2 separate regions of the Homo sapiens genome follow, and region 2 is linked to region 1. The links are contacts of gene promoters, found by promoter capture Hi-C in blood cells and fetal thymus (Javierre and others, 2016). All regions are on one chromosome and are shown on one strand. Each heading gives the region's core, a stretch centred on a gene start or on the middle of the fragment in contact. The rest is flanking DNA. Distances are from core to core; before and after follow the strand shown. Region 1 holds the start of HAAO (3-hydroxyanthranilate 3,4-dioxygenase). Region 2 overlaps MTA3 (metastasis associated 1 family member 3).

Evidence for each region. The method cuts DNA at HindIII sites, captures the fragments that hold promoters and counts their contacts. A CHiCAGO score of 5 or more calls a contact.
Region 2: a contact is called between a fragment that was not itself captured here and the fragment with the promoter of HAAO in region 1, in 1 of 17 cell types (M1 macrophages). The highest score is 5.2, in M1 macrophages.

What each region holds. Positions count from the first base shown.
Region 1 is chr2:42,789,592-42,794,657 of GRCh38, reverse strand. It overlaps HAAO (3-hydroxyanthranilate 3,4-dioxygenase), which reads left to right and starts at 2,075. Exons shown (of 10, transcript NM_012205.3): 1 at 2,075-2,201. The coding sequence starts at 2,122. RefSeq lists silencers at 1,339-1,428, 1,509-1,608, 1,789-2,228. The HindIII fragment of the contact is 4,290 bases long and covers 1-2,301 here.
Region 2 is chr2:42,656,170-42,661,235 of GRCh38, reverse strand. MTA3 (metastasis associated 1 family member 3) reads right to left here. Exons shown (of 17, transcript NM_001330442.2): 7 at 4,934-5,036; 8 at 1,374-1,473. Among named protein-coding and RNA genes, the nearest start is that of MTA3, 90 kb to the right of the region's middle. The HindIII fragment of the contact is 4,038 bases long and covers 764-4,801 here.

The DNA.
Region 1 (5,066 bases), core at 826-3,325:
CAGGGGAAGACACCAGCAAGCAGGCCAGATCCTTTGAGCTTGGATCGTGGGGTAGATTCTATTTGCTTCTAATCCTTTAGTGCAGATGAGCTCCTGTGTGCAGAGGAGAGAGGTGGCTCCTAGAAGCGGGTAAATTCCAGAAACTACAAGGGGCCCAACAGTCAGTATCCAGAAGGATTCCAGATGGTTCCAACTCAACAATGCCAGAATACTCACAACATAGCAACTGTCCGTTTTCTGAACATTGGAGTCCAGTGGTGCCTGAGCCAGGAGGCTTGCCAATTCAGTAGACCAGACGTGGTATTTGCTCTACACAGCACAAATCAGAGGGCATATTTGATAGTGATAACATAGCAGTCATTTAGCTTGTGTAGAGGGTTACTCGGGATATTTCAGACCCCCAAAATTCTACTTGTGGCCTTAATTATTCACATTATTTGATCACATCAGTTAAAATACAGAGTACCTATCATTCTTTCCTTTGCACTATGGTAACGGAACATCTGTTGGGCTGAAATCAATTTTTTCTCCTTTTTGTGTGAATTCATTGATGCCTTCATCCACCCACTCACCCATCCCTCCATTTAACTAACACTCAAAGCAAACTTAACACATCTCAGATCCTCAGTGCTTCATGTGTCATTGTTTACGTCTCCTCTGATTACTTGTAGATGAGAAAAATAAAGAAGGTGGTGTGAGTTACTTGGGTGCAAAACGATATTCTAGTTTTGCACTAGAAGTGCTCAGCTAAAACTGTGCTAGATAAATAACTAAAAAAAAGGAGAGAGAAAAATGAAAAAAAAAAAAAGAGCGTCAGAGAGGAAACGGGAGGGTCTCAGTGGGGAATTCGGCTTCCTGTCGTCTGGGTTTTGATTTTGAGTTGTACTAGAGGAGTCTTTATGTCTGGAATGCTGAGAAAACCAGCCCAGGCCAGGCGGGCTGTGAGGGCAGGATTTAGAGGCGTTTAGTTTCTTAAACTCTATAGTCTGGATTCCGGTGTCAGGGGCCTGAGCCATTTTCCTCCTCCCCTACCCGTCAGCTCCCACTCCCTCCAAACTTCCTAAGAAAGTTCTGAGTCCTGCAGAAAGACAGGCTTCTCCATCTTCCACACCCGCGCAGATTTCTCTTTCCTCACACATGCACGCCCAGGCCCAGCGCCCCAGCCCCTCACCCCCAGGATAACTGTTAGAGTCTCTCACACGGGGCTGTCATCATTAACACCCCGAGATTCCCGAGGGCTAGGACACTGAGGCCGGTGTCCACATCTGCCAAATTCCTCCCATAGCTGCGTGCGAACTGAGTATGTTCCTAAGACGCCTAAGGAGTTCAGCACGGGGCTCGGGGTCCACTGCGACACTGCGCGGACAGCGGCCGCTCGGCTGGGCCTCAGGTGGGGAGGGCTCGCGGTCCTGCCCTGAGCCCGGGCTCCGCAGCTCGGCGCCTGCACCGCTCCCCTCGCCGAGCCCGCGGCGGAGTCTGCCGGCCGCACGCAGCAGGTCTGGGGCTCACCTTGAATCGGGACCTGCGGGGACCGCCGTGCGGCTTCCCGCTGGGTGAGCGCCGCAGCCCTGAGTGGCGGGGCAGTCATTCCCCTTTTCCAGATGGGAAAGCCAAATCTTGAGCCCAGCGCCAGCACCGTGTTCTCAGGTGCTGGGACTTCCAACCCGCGATCTCCTCACTGTAGTATTTCTGGGAACCTTCCCTGGGATTCCCCTCGGGGCGTAGAGGGAAGGAACGTCTGGGGACAAGCGTCCAGGAAGGGTCTGGATTCTTTGTCCTCCGCCGGGAGCAGGCCCCACCGCAGGCGCCAGTGTGTGGGGCGCCCCGGAGACGGTGGCGGGGACCGAGCCCCTGCCCCGCGGAGAAGCAGAGGGCGCGGGACGCCGTTCCCCAGCGCTGCCGCCGCCGCGCTCGCCAGGGCCTGGAGTGGCGCGGAGGGCGGCGGGCTCAGACCAAAGTCCACCAGGGGGCAAAGTCCGCGGGCCCCAAGCCCCCACCACGGGGTCGCGGGGGTTTGCTCCGCCTCGTGAGCTTGGGATTCTGGTTAAAAAGGCGGCTGGGCGGAGCTGCGGGCCTCCGACGGCGGGAGGACAGCGCTGCGAGGAGGCGCCCGGGACAGTCATGGAGCGCCGCCTGGGAGTGAGGGCCTGGGTGAAGGAGAACCGGGGCTCCTTCCAGCCCCCGGTCTGCAACAAGCTCATGTGAGTCCAGCACCCCCATGGCCGCCCCCTGCCCTCGCCTCCTCCCCCTCCTCCATCTGCGCCCTCACCTTCCAGCTCCGAGTTCCTGGACCCAGAAGCTTGCAGAAGGACCGCTTTAATCTCTTGGTTCTTGGGGGAAGATGGAGACAGGCTGTTCCGGTTCCACCACATCGGTCTGTTCCTCTTTCTTGTGACTGTGGCCTTGACTTCTGAAGAAGGCTGAGCTGGTTCTCAGGCTGTAGGAGATGACATGACAGGGTGCACCTCTCCTTCCAGGGCTGAGAAACAATTCTCCAACCCCAAGTGACACTGTGCATTTTGGGAAAACTCAAAAGTGTGGGGAGGGTGGTTTTCAAGGCAGAAATGCACTAGAATGTAGGCCTGGGGGCAGCCAAATCATACACCCCAACCCTGTCCCAGAAGCCACAGGCAAAGGGGGAGGCAGAGAATCCGCTCCTTTGGGAAGATCTTGATGTCTTGCTTTTTTCAGGGCCCCTCTATGCAGGTGTGCACGAACACACACACACACACACCACACCAGACCCTCCCTAGGCCACCTCTGCCAGTAGCCTCTGCCTGCAGCACCCAACAGGGTTGGCCATCCAGCTGCCATCTTTCTCAGGCAGACCTCTCAGGCCCTCCCCTGTGGTATGGTCACCTCCCTCATCCCCCCAGTTCCATGGCGGGGCCCCACATGCCAGCTAGATCAAGGTTTACATTCCCCATTTTTGCTGTGTCCACAGGACATGGTCAGTAGGGTGGCACCTCAAGGCAAACAGCAGGCCCAGGACTATGCCAAGTGTTTTTACATCATCTCATCTCATTCTCACAGTAGCACCGTGAGGGGGGATTTTCATAAGTAACTTTTCTAGTGTCACGGAGCGCCTGTGCGATAGGCTCCAGACTCAACCCACGGAGCAGTTCGACTCCAGAGTCCACGCACACTCTTGGTTACCATGCAATACCACATGGCCAACAGTCAATATCTCCCCAAAGATCTCTTCTATCACTGTTGTTGCCCACCCCCAATTAAAGATGTAGCATCATCTTTGCCTCCTTCCAACACTTCATCCCCATCTGCAGTCGCTCCTTCTCAGTCCTCCCTTCGCTCCCCCTGAGGTCTCGCGTCCATCTGCCCGGGCCTCTCCCTAGCATTTGGTGGTTTGCTGGCATCATTGGTATTCTTGCTTCTGCTGTACCACGCCCACCTCCACCTTCGTCTTCACAAGGCAGTCTCCTTGTGTGTGTGTCTGTGTCCAAATTTCCCTCTTTTAAAAGAACACCAGACATATTGGATCAGGGGCTCACCCTACTCCAGGATGACCTCATCCTAACCTAACTACATCTCAAGGACCCTATTCCAAATAAGGTCACATTCTGCAGTACTGGGCGTTAGGACTTCAACATATAAATTTTACAGGAGGGGTTACTATTCAGCAAGGTGAGAAGCTGCTGAAGCAAGCAAGGTGAGAAGCTGCTGAAGAGTTCTGGGCAGAGGAGGGGCAGGTCTGGTTTATGCATTCTGACTGATGGGTTGAAAGAATTCTTGAGTGGAGTTGTTTAAGAATTGTCTGTATGTACCTAAATTACATCTCAGTGAAGTTGATTTTAAAAAACAACTTTCAAGCCGGGCGCAGTGGCTCATGCCTGTAATCCCAGCACTTTGGGAGGCTGAGGTGGGTGGATCATTTGGGGTCAGGAGTTCAAGACCAGACTGGCCAACATGGTGAAACCCCGTCTCTGCTAAAAATACAAAAATTACCTGGGCGTGGTGGCACGCGCCTGTAGTCCCAGCTACTCAGGAGGCCGAGGCAGGAGAATTGCTTGAACCCGGGAGGTGGAGGCTGCACTGAGCCGAAGTTGTGCCACTGCATTCCAGCCTGGGTGGCAAGCAAGACTCTATCTGAAAAAAAAAAAAAAAAAACAAACTTTCCAGGTTCCCCAGCACCCCTTAGGCCAAGACCAGACTCCATGGCTGGTCCACCCTCCTGGACCAGCCTTCTCAATCGTTCCCCAAGCTCACCCCCAGTGCTTCTAATCTCAGAGCCTCTGCACCCAGCTCTCCTGTGCACACTCTTCCCCAGTCAAGTTCCTTGCGGCTTCCCTCCCCTCCTTGAAGCTCTATGCAGCTTTAAGTTCTTTAAGCATGGACTGTTCATGACAGCCTTCTCCTGCCCTGCAACCTCATCCACCTTTCCAAACATCAGGTCCACACGTGTGTTTCCGGTTTATTGGGCCCAGCCTCCCAAAAGGGAAGGAAAAGGAAAGAGACTGGCTCTTCCGTCTTGCCTCCATGCCTCCCAGCTGGGCTGGAAAGCAGCCCACAGGACAGGACACTCAGAAAGGACCTGCCAGTCTAGTTTGGGGGCTCAGACCTCCCCCATAGCCCCTCCCCTGCCATCCACACCATCGTCATCCATGCAGGCAGCCTCTAGGCTGCTGTGCCCTGTGTGTACAAATGGTCCCAGACCCAGCGCCTCCCCTTCCCAGAGGAAAGCCCTTGCCCCTGCCCTCTGTGGCAGGGCCACCTGAGAACACCCTGAAGCCCTACACAGACACATTCTGCTGCTTATTCACCCCAGTGTCTGCACCCTGAAAGGGGACCCTGCTGTGGGGATGGGGCAGGCTGTTCTCAGGAGGTGCTGAGGTATTTTTTGCATAAAAAGGTAACACCACACCAACAGCAGAAAGACTGAGGAGTTTGGGAACCCTTTTGTTCCAAACAGCTGACTAGATGCCCCACAGACCCAACGCCAGCGTGGGAGTCAAGGAGCCTGAGACCTGGCTCAGGTTCAGTCATTCCCTGGCTTTGTGACCCTCTCTTGGCTGGCTAAATCGGCTGTAAAATGAGAGGGTTGTATTGAG
Region 2 (5,066 bases), core at 1,533-4,032, 130 kb after region 1:
AAAGTTCTTGCAAACATGACATCTGTACTCTTGCTTCTCTGATAAAATATTCTCGAAGCTCTAAACAACTGAAATACAAACCCATTTTGGAGATCCTAAAATTTGGGGTAAAATATTAATGTCCCAATGGAGAAAACAAAACTTTCTTCTATGAACAATTCTAGTCTTTGAGAAAGGAAAAGGCAAGGAGTTCCACAGCTTTAGTCACAATCTATAATTGTACAGAAGTACACAAAATGCATAAGAAACAAGGCTGGGAGCAGTGGCTCACAACAGTAATCCCAGCACTTTGGGAAGTCAAGGCAAGAGGACTGCTTTAAAGCCAGGAGGAGTTCAAGACCAGCCTGGGCAATCACATAGTAAGACCCTGTCTTTATTTTTATTATCTGATGTGTATTCCTCTATGAGTTCTTACATTATCAAAATAAATATTTTATGAAAAGCATGTCAAATTGGCATTATGATAAGAAAGTTAAAAACCCATATTGTATTCCATTTCATTAGAAAACAATATTGAAACTTTTGTTACATGTAATGAATACTGGTCAAATAACCTCACCAAACTCAGTTTTCTCGTGTGTAAAATGAGCATCCTACCGTGCCTATCACAAGGGGTAACAGGAATCAAATACAGTAAGTAACTTCAATCAGCAAAAAACTCACAGGTCCACTTTTCTGGAGTGCAGAGAAAGCAGTAAGTGCCAGGTCCTATGCCTGACCACGGCAGCCATTAGTGGTAAAATTAAACTGAATATAGGAAGCTTCATTTGATCACCGAAAGAAAAAAGTAAATAGATTTAAAAGATATCAACTATAATGTAATAAAATTATATAGAAAATAGCCCCTCTGGCCGGGTGTGGTGGCTCATGCCTGTAATCCCAGCACTTCGGAAGGCCGAGGCGGGTGGATCACAAGGTCAGAAGTTTGAGACCAACCTGGCCAACATGGTGAAACCCCGTCTCTACCAAAAATACAAAAATTAGCTGGGTGTGGTGGCACGTGCCTGTAATCCCAACTACTCAGGAGGCTGAGGCACGAGAATCACTTGAACCCAGGAGGCGGAGGTTGCAGTGAGCTGAGATCATGCCACTGCACTCCAGCCTGGTGACAGAGCAAGACTCCATCTCCAAATATAAAAAGAAAGAAAAAAAAAAAAACAGCCCCTCTTTCTAATGAACAGACACAAAAAACTCTCAACTCACAGACGAGTGTTATCATAACCCAGTCAACCAAGTAACCAAGCCAAATCAACCTAGCAGTCAGGAAGGCTAAGAGCCCAAAAGCTCCCGGTCTACAGTATTGCCACAATGGCTTTAAAATTAAACAAGTAACAGAAGGATAAATACCCACAAAATTTCAAACCATGTCTTACCAAGGTGATGTCTCGGGAAGCTGCAGCAGCACTCATATGCAAACTAGGCTGCCTCACAGAACTGCTGCAATCCAGGGCTCTGGCGAATGTCCCAACAGCACTGAATAAACCACAAACACAATAAGGAAGAATTAAGTATCTGTTTTGGTTTGTTTTTTTAACGTTTTAAAAAACACATTTGGATAGTAAATAAAAAACTGTAAAAGAAGAGGCAAAAACAAGTTTCTGAATGAGAATCAAACATCAAATAAAAAGAATTTTCACTCTATAAGATATAATAATTGACAAGCCAATTTACTATAAACAGGTCGTTATCATGAAATCAAGAAAAAAAATAGCCTGTGCAGGGGGTAAAAAAGAAGGAAAGGGAAGCTCTGTTATAACATGTCATGGAGTAAAACATTTATTCAAATTGGCTCAAAAAATAAAAAGTCAGCTGCAGAGTTTGACTATTACAGCAAAGCAAGTTTTGACTACTTTTTAAGCCCAAATTGTAAAACTCAGTTACATTTTTCCCCCAATATATCATTAACTGTAGCAACCCCTTCCTGTGAGGATTCAACATGAAACAGATTTCTACTAAAATCTCATTTAAAAAGAAATTACCATAATGCTGATTTTAATGATTTGGAAGTCCTTCCAATATGTAAGAAACCCTAACCTTAACACATACAGCATAAAATGAAGACTCACTGCTTTTCCTGCCTGTATTTTAAACATGTTTGCTATGGAAGAGATTTTTTATTTTTATTATTTTTATTTTTTGAGACAGGGTCTCACTCTGTCACCCAGGCTGGAGCGCAATAGTATGATCATAGCTCACTGCAGCCTCAACTTCCTGGGCTCAAACAATCTTCCCACCTCAGCTTCCCAAGTAGCTGTAACTATAGGCATGCACCACCACGCCCAGCTATTTTTTTTTTTTTTTTTTGGCTAATTAAAAAAAATTTTCTGTAGACAAGGCCTCCCTATGTTGCCCAGGCTGGTCTGAAACTCCTGGGCTCAAGTGATCCTCCCGCCTCGGCCTCCCAAAGTTTTGGGATTATAGGCATGAGCCATTGTGGTTGACCCCTAAGGAAGAAATTTTATAAATATTTTAATTAAAATACAACAAACATGTTGAAAAGTACACAGTAAACAGATAGTTACTGTAAAGTGAACACATGCATGCCACCAACATACAGTTCAAGAAAGAACATGACCACAACCCAGAGGCTCCTCAAGCTCCTTTCCACAGGGAACCACCACCCTGGATTATAGCACCACAGATTAGTTTTGCTCAAATAGAATCACACAGCTGGATATTACGTCCAGCTTCTTTTGATTAAAATTACGTTTGTGGGTTCATCCATGTTGTTAGCTACAGCTGTATTCACTCATTTTCCCTGTTACGCGACATTCCGTTGTACGACGTCTCATCCCCACCTCCACTCTACTGCTGACAGACATTCCATGTGTTTCCAGTTTGGGGTTACTATGAATAGTGCCATAAATCCATTTGTATACGTATCTTTTGGTGCAAAGGTATATGCATTTCTGCTGCATAGATATTTAGGAGTGAAACTTAAGAGATACTTGTGTTAGATGACAGCAAACAGTATTCCAAAGGAGCTGTACCAATTTACACACTCACCAGCAGGATATGAGAGTATTGGTTCTAAATCTTGATCAATGCTTAGCACTGTCAGTCTTTAAAATTTTAACCATTCTGGTGGATTGGCAGTGGTATTTGACTGTGGTCTTAATTTGCATTTAGAAGATCTTTTTTTTTTTTTTTTTTTTTTTTTTTTTGAGACAGAGTCTTCCTCTGTCGCCCAGGCTGGAGTGCAATGGTGCGATCTCGGCTTACTGCAACCTCCGTCTCGCAAGTTCAAGCAATTTTCCCGCCTCAGTCTCCCAAGTAGCTGGGATTACAGGCACCCACCATCATGCCCAGCTAATTTTTTTTGTATTTTTGTAGAGACGGGGTTTCACCATGTTGGCCAGGCTAGTCTTGACCTCCTGACCTAAGGTGATCTGCCTGCCTTGGCCTCCCAAAGCACTGGGATTACAGGCGGCGTGAGCCACTGTGCCGGGCCCTTTTTTTTTTTTTTTTTTTTAAGAGATGAGGTCTTACTATATTGCCCAGGTTTGTCTTGAACTCCTGGACTCAAACAATCCTCCTGCCTTGGCCTCCCAAAGTGCTGGGGTTACATGCATAAGCCACCATTCCCAGCCTACAAGATTATTTTTTAAAACAAATATTGAAAACAAAAACATACTAGGAACCAACTCCTTGGTGTCCTTCATGCTGGCTTTGAGGGGAAACATACAGCCCTTGGCAATCAGAAAAATGAAAATACAGAATACAAATCTAATTTGAAAATGGCAATGTCTCCTAACCAATCCCCAATCTAGACAGCCTGTCTGGAGACTCTAGACCAATATTCTGTACTCAACAAGGGGCCACAAGATTGGCCCCTTTACAATGCTCATCAAGTGTCTCCATCCAGTCACTTAGTAGTTAGGTGATGGGCTCTGGACTCCAAATGCCTGGCCACCAATAAAAAGTGGGATCGTCCATGGTGACTGGCTCTATGAACAGTGATATCTAAGGATGAGCCAAGACTATTTTTTCCTCTGCATTGTGAAATAAGTTCAACACAAAATCAGACAATAACATAATGAAGACCCTTGCATCCACTGTCCAGATCTAACTCATAGTAATATTTTGCCATGTTTGGTTCATTCTTTTAAAAAATAAATATTATAAATTTGTTAGAGTTCCCTATATATACTCCTAGATCATATATACTATATATACCCATTTAATGTATTTAAAAATCCACTAATAAAATAGTTTTGTACACAGCAAACATTTTATAATTACTCTGTATACACATAAATGATCACATGGTATATACCCTCAACACTATTTGTGATGTTTATCTCTTTGCTACATATAGCTTTAATTCATTCAATTGCCATAAAATAATATTTCACTATATGAGTATACCTCAGTTCATTCATCAATTGCTTGCTGATGTACTTTTACTGTTATCATTTTTTAAATAAAAATAAAATTCTGTCCCATTCATTCTCTTAAGAAAAGGGGAGGAAGGAAGGAAGCCAGCCAGGTAGCCAGGTTGAAAGCTCTCAAGGCAAAGTGCTATGCTTAGCAACAGGCCTTACCCACACATGGATGCGGTGAGCGAATTCCAGGTGCACATTCTTATTGATACCTGAATAATCCATGTCTAGAGTAAAGCTATGTCAAGTAAAAAGGATGACTCTTTTTATTAAGGATGTGGGACTTCAGGTATTTTCTTCAGGTATAAAGAATTTCTTCTTTATACTTTTCTGTTTTCTTAATCAGTAAAAATTAATACAACTATTTTCATTTAAAACAGAAATTAATAAAATTAGGAAGCAGCATAACGTATTAAGCTTTCTTACCTAACTAAAAAAATAATACAATCAGTGGGAGAAAAGCAGAATACAAAGAAATAAAAATACATATACCTATAAATTCTTTTATATAAAGAAATTTATTGACTCAATAATGCCATACTCATACTCACCGTGCTACAACTAAAAACTGGTCAATCTGTCGATCCGTAAGTGGGCTATTTGGATCCCAAACTTTAACTTCCAATTTTGATTGTTCCCTCTCATCTGATTCTCCTGTCCAAAAATAAATAAAATGGAGTCTTG